3 separate regions of the Homo sapiens genome follow, and regions 1 and 2 are each linked to region 3. Evidence: promoter capture Hi-C in 16 types of primary human blood cells and fetal thymus (Javierre and others, 2016). All regions are on one chromosome and are shown on one strand. Each heading gives the region's core, a stretch centred on a gene start or on the middle of the fragment in contact. The rest is flanking DNA. Distances are from core to core; before and after follow the strand shown. Region 1 holds the start of SUSD6 (sushi domain containing 6). Region 2 holds the start of EXD2 (exonuclease 3'-5' domain containing 2). Region 3 overlaps ZFYVE26 (zinc finger FYVE-type containing 26).

Region 1 (2,909 bases), core at 3-2,502, 1.8 Mb before region 3:
TCCCATCTCTGTAGATCAAAAAAGGGAGTAAATCCCTAGGCCTAATTGAACTGAGTAATCTTACTGCACCTCTGGAAGAGCACACAGGAGCCCAGTTAGCGAGAGCAACAAAGCCCAGCATGTCGCCTGCCACTGAAAGAAAATTCTGTGGGAACAACAGCTTTAGGCCTCCTTGCCCAGACGCCAACTTCCCTTTAACCAGCCCAAGACTTTATTTTGACGCCTCTTTGCTCCTGGGTCTTGCTGTCCCCATAACCACCTCCCCCTCCTGCTCCTAAATTCGTCCAGGGTAACTTTTCTCCACTTCAGCAGCTCCCCAGCCACGACTCCCATGAGGGAGAGTCAGATCCACACTCATAGCTGGGGTCTCAAAACCAAGCGAAAAAAGGAAAGTCTGTATGTACGTGCCTACTTTTTGAAAGAAAATAGCTGGTTTCGGGGAGTTTAGCCTGGTTAATAAGAGAAGTTTTTGAGATTAAAGAGCAGCCGAGGCGCGGGGGCTCCCGAATGCCGCGGTGCGCACAGGCGGGCTCTGAGATTTCCTCAGGAAATCCACCTTCTCTAAGCCAGCCCTGCCCCAGCGCAAGCCCCGCAGCTTTGCTGGGCTGAGGGCAGTAATGACAGTGGCACAGAGGGCCTCTGCCTACCTCCTCTGCACCCATCGGCACGGCGTCTGGCTCTTCCGGTGCTGCCCGGGCAGCGACGCGGGACGGCGCGCCCCGGACCGCGGGTCACCAAGTTCCCGGCCGCAAACCAGCCGCCGGTCCCCCCGGCCGCGCAGCCCCCACTGCTGGCCGGCTGGCCGCGCCACGCCAGCGCGGGGCTCCCAGCGGCGCGGCTCGCGGCCGGGTGACAGCGGGCCGGCGCAGAGAAGCGCGGGGAGCCGCCGAAGCCGGCCCGGGCTCCGGCCAGCGTCACTCCTGGGCGGTGCGCGCTGGTCCCGCGCCCCTGACAGCCGGCCGAGCGCGTCGATGGCACAATGCCGGCCCCGCCGCCCCCGGGCCGCGGTGACAACTCACCCGGGAGCCGGCGGAGACCTCCGGGATGGGGGCGCTCACAGCTTCCACGCCGCCGCTTGCGCGCGCCCGCAGTCTTCTCGGGTCTAGGCGAGGCCCCGCGTGCCCTTGTCTAGCTCGCTCTGGCCGGCGCTGTGGGCAGAGGAAGCGGGCGGGAGGGAGGGAGGAGGTGGGGCGGTCGCCGGCTTCGGAGAATAGAACGCGGCGGTAGCGACGGCTGCAGCGCCCGCGTCACTGACCCAGCTGTACCGCGCGGGCGGGGGAGGCCCCGCGGAGGGGAGGGGGCGGGGAAGGGGCGGGAAAGGGGCAGGGCCAGGCGCGCACGCAACGGCGCCGGCGTCGCGCCGCCGCGACCGCCCCGCCGGGAGGCCCTGCACGCACGCGCCGCCGGCCGGGCCAGGTACCCAAGGGAGAAGCGACGCGGTTGGGGAGGTGGGGGGTCCTTAAAGAGACAGTCCCTCTGCGCTGGAGTGGATGGGGCGGTGGCACCGACTCAGCTGGACTATGCGGCGTTTCCAGTGCGCTCTCCAGTTCGTTTACTATTATTATTATTTGCATGATTGAATTACTATTATTTGCAAAGAATTGTACTGCCCTGAGGTTTACAAGGCTTTTGGCGCATGTTGCCTTGTTAGCTCTTGAATTGCTCGTCTGACCTAGCTCGTCTGAAGCAGGTTATTATCTCCCTGTTAAGCAGTAATCCGAACTGTGGTTCCTAGCCTGCCAACATTAAAGCTGCCCGGGGGGTGGGTGGGGGTGAAAATGCAGATTCGGGGCCCCGAATGACCTCCAGCCATTGTGATTCAGTGGGGTCGGACTTGGGAATCTGTATTTTCACTAGCATTCTGAAGTGAGTGATCCTTCAGCATACTAAAAGCACACAAGGGATCTCAAGGTTGAGAAAACCGCAGTTCAGAGCCAGGACTGGCAGAGCCCGGGCTAGAAGCCTGCCACATTCCTAACTGTATTTCCCCTCTTGAGCCTTGCCTTCTGGGGCTATTTTCTAGCACATACTGAGTGAGCAGTTTGTGCACTGTATGGCTACATCGTTTATTGGTGATCTCTCATGCAGTGTGTCCTCGGTTTATGTGTTTACAGGGCCCGTGGCGCCTTGATGGGGAGGACTCTGGCTTTTTATCTTTGTACCCCAGGGCCTTGCACCGTGTCGGTCTCAGAGGTCCTCCATAAGTGTTAAGGAACTCCTACTTGTAAATCAGTGGTAGAGTCCACATCTGGACCTACAGACTTGTGTCTTTGCTGCAGCTTGGGTCAGGCAGGCCTCTTCTCCCAGATGCTCTTGGACAAAAGGATACACCTTCTCAGGGCCTCTCACCAGGCCTAGTTCTAGTAGGCTTTCGGGAAAAGCACTGTGAATTAACAGGGCATGTCCTTGTGAAGTAGCTTGAACCAAATAAACAGGATGCTCCTCCCCATGCACACAGACCCATCCCCAAAAGAACCCTTCCCTTCTGGGCCCCACAGCAACCTGTGGCTCGTTGCTATAATGCCTTTTTCATAAGTCTATCCTTGTTCTGCCTTCTTTCTTCCTTGCCTTCTTGGGTCCAGACTCATTAGAGAAGATGGGCACCCCTCCCTTCCTGCTCATTTGGGGCCACACTGCCCAGACCACTAGAAGATTGAAAAGCACAATTCAGAACTACCTGGGTCTGCCTCAGAGCACAACCAAATCAGTGTGGGCAGCAGGAACATGCCAGGCAGACCCAAGGCTCAGGGAGGGGACAAGGGGGAAGGAAGCAAGGGAAAGGGATGGAGGAAGAATTGGAGAAGATGAATGGAGGAAGGAGAAAAAGAAAGAAAGGAAAGGGAAGAAAGCAGGCATGGATGGTTCAGGTCAGATCAACTGCCAAAGTAACTGAGCCCCTGGCTGTGCAC
Region 2 (2,837 bases), core at 210-2,709, 1.4 Mb before region 3:
TTGAGAAATGCTCTCACATGGGCTCTCACAGAGGTGTGTGGGAAGGATGTTCTCCGCCATACTGTGTCTAACAATGAAAAACTGGAAACAATCTATGGAATCTTACATAACCATGGAATTTACAGAGCAAGTAGAAAGAATAGGTAGATCTCTAGGTACTGACAAAGAAAAAATTCCAAGACCCGTTTTTAAGCATAAAACGTCAAGTTGTGTAATGCATAAAACATGCATATTTGTAAAAGTTTAAAGCGAAATCTTACAAACATATATCTTATACGTACACATACTTGTCAAATAAATGCAAAGAAAAATACACACAAACTGACAACAGTTCTTATTTTGTGGGAAAGGGACTGGTAAAGAAGGTGGAGATGGAAAAAAACAAAATCAAAGAGGATCTGTCTTCCACACTCCCCACCCTCACCACCAAGAACATCAAGCTAAGAAAGATCTGTGTTTAAAATTTTTACATAATTTTGTTACAAGGCTTTATGCACGGACTATAACTAGAATATTTTAAAAATACATTTTTAAAACAAGCTCAACTTGACCAAATTTAATCCATCTTCCCCGCTGCGCCCCAACCCGCACTTCCTAATTCCTATGATTAACAAAACCTTTCAATTCCTTCTATCCTTGGAACAGAACTAAGAAAATAAAGTATAATTTCAATTTTGTGTTTTTGAGGAGAGGGTATATAAAGGAGTTTGAATGTTGGAATCATATCAAAAGCTTATCGGGGGATTGGTTTGTTTGTATTTTAAGGAGCAGATGTCAATTTTGTAATAAATAATGATTAAGGTTCTTAGTTTTGATCCATCCCAGGGATGTGAAAAGCCAAAGAGGTGGCTCCCGGCAAGGCCCAGAGCAGGGTGTGGTCTGGGAGGACAGGGATGGTAGCGAGGGTGGCGGCTCACACGAATCCAGGAGAGAAAACAGCAGCTGTTGCCGCGTCGAACCCGCAGCGCCCGAGGAGCTACCAGGTGCCGCGGGCGGGGCCTCCTTTTTAGCTGACTGGGACACGCAGCCTCGAAGGTCTGGTAGAGTCTCCCAGGGAGAGGGTAAGGGGGTCGAAAGGAGAGGCCCAAGGAGGGCGTGGGAGGCCGCGGGCAGGGGTGAGGCCCTCCTTGCGCACCTGGGTGCTGAACCGCCCCGCCGTGTGCGACGGGGGCGAGGGGGTCACGCCGAGGGGCGGGGAGAGGGGCAGGGCCAACTCGCTCCGGGACAGCGGGGGCCCCGCAATGTCACCCCCGTACACGGTAATATCCCCCCGCTCCACGACCCCTCTTAGTCTGCACTGGAAGCACCCCCTGCCCCGCGCACAATCCTGGTGCAAGGCTTCGCCGGCTTCTGAGCCTCACTTACCTGCTGTCTCGGACTGGGCCGCACACCTGCAGCGGGCTCACGTTAAAGACCTGGAACCTGTGCGGCCGCCTGCGCGCACCCACCCGGATTCACTAGGGCCGTAACCACTTCCGTTCCTGCGACAGGCCTGGAGGACGTAATCCCAGCTGGCGTGTGGGAACGGGCAACGCCATTTTGTACGGAAGCTACTGGGGCAGGTGATGCCTACCCAGTCTCTCTCCTCTGTTGAACAAAGGATCTGTTAAAATTGGAAGGGCTTAACGTCTTCTTCAGAAAAGTGACGCATTTGTTACTGGGATGGTATGTTTGTGTTTTGGTTTTGGCTTTGAAGGGAGAAACCTCCAGAACTCTCACAAATGTAATATGGGACATCGAATTTTCCTTCTTTAGTATCCTGCGTACTGTTTTTCTGCTAAACGATAACAGTAAATAGAAGGAAAGACACTGTATTTAAATAATGTAGTCTTCATTAGCAGTGCACATTATCCTATAGCCACTATAATAATTTTATGTACCCTCCTTTTTTTTTTTTTTTTTTTTTTTTGTAGATACTGTCTCCCTACATTGCCTAGGCTGGTCTCGAACTCCTGGGCTCAAGCGAACCTCACAACTCGGCCTCCCAAAGTGCTGGGATTACAGGCGTGAATGCCCAACCTATGCCATCTTTTATAGCGATAACCACAATACTTTTTGTTTATATATTAAATCGTTCATCCAATCAGTCTTTATTAGCAATTATATGTGAGGCAGTTAATCTGTGCTACATGCATGCTTTTCCTTTCTCATGGAATGTGTAAAACAGAAGGAGAAATGAGATGTGCATAAATAACCAATATAAGGTATAATAATAGCTACCATTTGTTGACTTTGTGCTCACCTGTTGCTAGGAACTTTGCAAAGCATTTTACTTATTTTTTCTCCTTTAATCCCCATAACAACCCTGTGAGGCAGTACTATTATTAGTGCCGTTTTACATAAAATAGAAAAAGGTTAAATAACTTCCTCAAGGTAATTCAGCAAGTAAGCACCGGAGTTAGGAATCAAACCTCATATTTCTGATTGCAGAGCATGTGGCCCCATCCTTTATACTATATTGCCTTCAATACAGGGGCAAATGTTTTAAATTCCATTGAATGAGTACCCATGGGGGAAATTTCCAGCTATTATAGAGGATTAACTCCCTGAATTTTTATCTGCTCCATCTTGAAACACTTAAAAAACAAAGGATAAAGAGGAAATGCAAATTAAAACCACAATGAGATATAGCTAAATGAAAAAGAAAATGTCAAGTATTGGCAAGATTGTGGAGCAACCACAACTCTCATATGCTCCTGAAGGGAACATAAATTGATGCAATCACTTTGTTTAACTGTTTGGCGGTATCAACTGAATCTGAATATGTGAAAAGACTTTGTTCCAACAATTTCACCCCTAGCTGGGGCACAGTGGCTCAACGTGTCATCCCAGCACTT
Region 3 (2,891 bases), core at 29-2,528:
CATATATTACTGTTTGTTAAATACCACCATGAGTCTTGTGCCTAAAGAGAACTTTTGGAAACTCAGTGAAGGTAACAAAATAGCAAATAAAATATGAATCTGTAACATTTGGATCTATTCAACATTTAAGTAATAGAGAATGGGCTGAGCTGAAACTTGGTTTTTCTTCCAAAAATCATATTTTAACTAGCCTAATTCCATGACATCTCATAGATTCAAATTCCATTAATTCATAGTTTAATAATTCACATGAATTGAACAGAAAATTACCAGATATAAAAACAAGTAAGCAAATTAATATTGAAAAAAAAAACCTGGTAAGGAATTACCTTTTTTAAAGATAAACTTCCATTAAAAGTCCTTTTAGAAGTATGTTAATTATCAGAAATTTATATCTTATAAAAGAATTACTCTGAGACATTTTCATATTGAACTTCAGACTTTGAGATTTAAGTGAAGAACCTCTAACTTAGAAATGACTGGCCCAAGGACACACCGTAAAGTTATTTGACAGAGCTGGTGCTGAAACCAAGATCTTCTGACCTCAATCCTCTGCTTTTTCCACCTTAACACTACTTTTTTAGCCCAGATGGACTTTAAGAAACCACAAATTCTACTTTTAAAATGTCTGTAATTTCGCCAGTTTTTTAAATTTTTGCTCCTCTCGGTCACCAGAATTAATTTTGTCTTTGGTTCCACTTTTGCATGATATTTATCGTTCCTCACAGAGCTGTCAAAAAGTAACAGAAATTGCTAATCTGAATGTATCTCTTATCCAGGATTTAGCCAGTTGTTTAGGAAAGAAAAATGACAGAAAGACTAGTAGGAGCGAGAAGAAAGAAAAACAAGATTGAAACATAATGAAACCCAGCATCATTAAGAGTTGGCTATGGTTTCAGATTTAAAAGAGAAAACTTGAACTAAAATAGTAACCTATAGTTACTATAGTATCTTCAAAGAGAAAAAGAACTATTGTTACTGATTAAGGGATCTCTCTAGTACAAACATGGAATTTGTCAAATCAAATTAACTTTCCCCTCAGTAGAGACTATTTGCTTACTTTATATCTGAATGGTTGCTTATTTTCTAGACAGTTGCTCAACTATGTCAGGAGATGGATTCCACTTCCCGTTCTTGTTTTTCCCAGGTTCACAAATAGATTATTTGGTCTTTAAAGCTTCAATGACTTGCTTATTTAAACAGTTGTGGGACTATTTTAGTTCCTCATAGAATTTTAAAACTATATAAGCACCATGGCGTCCAGTGAATTCTTGGGGTAGTTTTCCAAGTCCAGTCATTATCCTGAAGGTGCCTTCATCATCTAGGAATTTACTGGCTGCCTGTCCTTTTCCAGGTTCCCACCTTTTGCCAAAAGCTTCCCTTTTAATTATTAGATGAAATAGTGATTCTATTTTCCCTTTCCTCCATTCATTTTTGCCTTCTGCCTTTTAATCTTGCAGAGATGTATCTCTCCATGTGTAAGCAATTATACAAAGATTTAGCTGCAGAAATGTTCACGTCTATGCTACTTCTATTAGAAGAAAACTGAAACAACTCCCATGTCCATAGTATAGGACAGGTTAATAAATGGAAATATATCTATATGTAAAATACTATACCACTATTCAAAAGTATTTGGCAAATGAGTTTTCACTAACATAGAGTGTTCATGGTCTGCTGTATGGGAAAAAAGGCAGTTTAGAAAAAAGTACATTTGGTATACATGCATAGAGATGTGCATAGCAAATGGTCTGAATGAATGGCCTTAGACCACAGTTTTCATAATTGTTCTCCTTCAGTGAGAATATATATAAAATATATATTTCATATATAATATGTTATATGTAATATATTTCATATGTGATATATATTTCATATATAATACATGTTATATATCATATATTTTATATTTGTTATATATCATAAATTTCATATATGTTATATATTATATATTTCATATGTAACTAAATACACCAATTAAATTTGTAAAATTACAAAATTAAATATACAAATAAGCAAACTAACATATGTTATATATATTATATTGCACTAAAATATAACATATATGTTACATATCTCTCTCTAGGATAAAACACTTTATCTTAGAGAAATAGCAGAAATAAGACTAACTGGACATACATATGTTTTATATATATATAACATATTTTAGTTTACTTATTTGTATATTCAATTTTTCTACATTGAACATGCCTTGCTCTTGTAACCGTAAAGTTATTTGACAGAACTGCTGCTGAAACCAAAATCTTCTGACCTCAATCCTCTGCTTTTTCTGCCTTAACACTACTTTTTTAGCCCAGATGGACTTAAAACTAAGAAACCACAAATTCTACTTTTAAGATGTCTATAATTTTGCCAGTTTTTTAAATTTTTGCTCCTCTCGGTCACCAGAATTAATTTTGTCTTTGGTTCCACTTTTGCATGACATCCTTGCTTAGAAATGCTGAGCAAATTCTTGCCTATTTTAGGAAGATAAATGTTAGTCAATTATGATCCTGAATATGTTTAAAGTAGTTTCAGCAGTAAAATAAGTATAATCTACTCAGTCTTTAGGATTCTAAATAAAATCTTAGCCAGGCTATTAAGGATCTGCTGTCCTAGACATCTTATCTATTCTTTTCTGTTAGTCTTCAATAGAAGCACTAATCCTCAGCTTCCCAGCATGAATTTTATCCACCAGCTTCCAATCACAGGCATTATACAAGCATTCACATGGCCTTGATGCACATATTAGGGAAGTACATGGTTAGAAGAAATAAGATTTTGGACCAAGAACACATTAGATCATGTTAGCCTCTGATGTGGTGAATGGTACATGAATGGAGATAGTTAGGTCTTGTGCTCTAAACTCTCCTCACTCATGTACACACACA

Evidence for each region. The method cuts DNA at HindIII sites, captures the fragments that hold promoters and counts their contacts. A CHiCAGO score of 5 or more calls a contact.
Region 1: a contact is called between the fragment with the promoter of SUSD6 here and a fragment that was not itself captured in region 3, in 1 of 17 cell types (fetal thymus). The highest score is 8.1, in fetal thymus.
Region 2: a contact is called between the fragment with the promoter of EXD2 here and a fragment that was not itself captured in region 3, in 2 of 17 cell types (naive CD8 T cells and total CD4 T cells). The highest score is 6.4, in naive CD8 T cells.

Annotation. Positions count from the first base shown.
Region 1 is chr14:69,609,939-69,612,847 of GRCh38, reverse strand. SUSD6 (sushi domain containing 6) reads right to left here and starts at 1,252. Exons shown (of 6, transcript NM_014734.4): 1 at 1,020-1,252. RefSeq lists a silencer at 734-1,503. The HindIII fragment of the contact is 10,737 bases long and covers 1-2,909 here.
Region 2 is chr14:69,190,120-69,192,956 of GRCh38, reverse strand. EXD2 (exonuclease 3'-5' domain containing 2) reads right to left here and starts at 1,459. Exons shown (of 10, transcript NM_001193360.2): 1 at 1,366-1,459. The region is part of intron 3 of GALNT16-AS1 (GALNT16 and EXD2 antisense RNA 1); the gene reads left to right. RefSeq lists a silencer at 1,049-1,238. The HindIII fragment of the contact is 2,229 bases long and covers 735-2,837 here.
Region 3 is chr14:67,810,903-67,813,793 of GRCh38, reverse strand. The region is part of intron 3 of ZFYVE26 (zinc finger FYVE-type containing 26); the gene reads left to right. Among named protein-coding and RNA genes, the nearest start is that of ZFYVE26, 4.2 kb to the left of the region's middle. The HindIII fragment of the contact is 198 bases long and covers 1,180-1,377 here.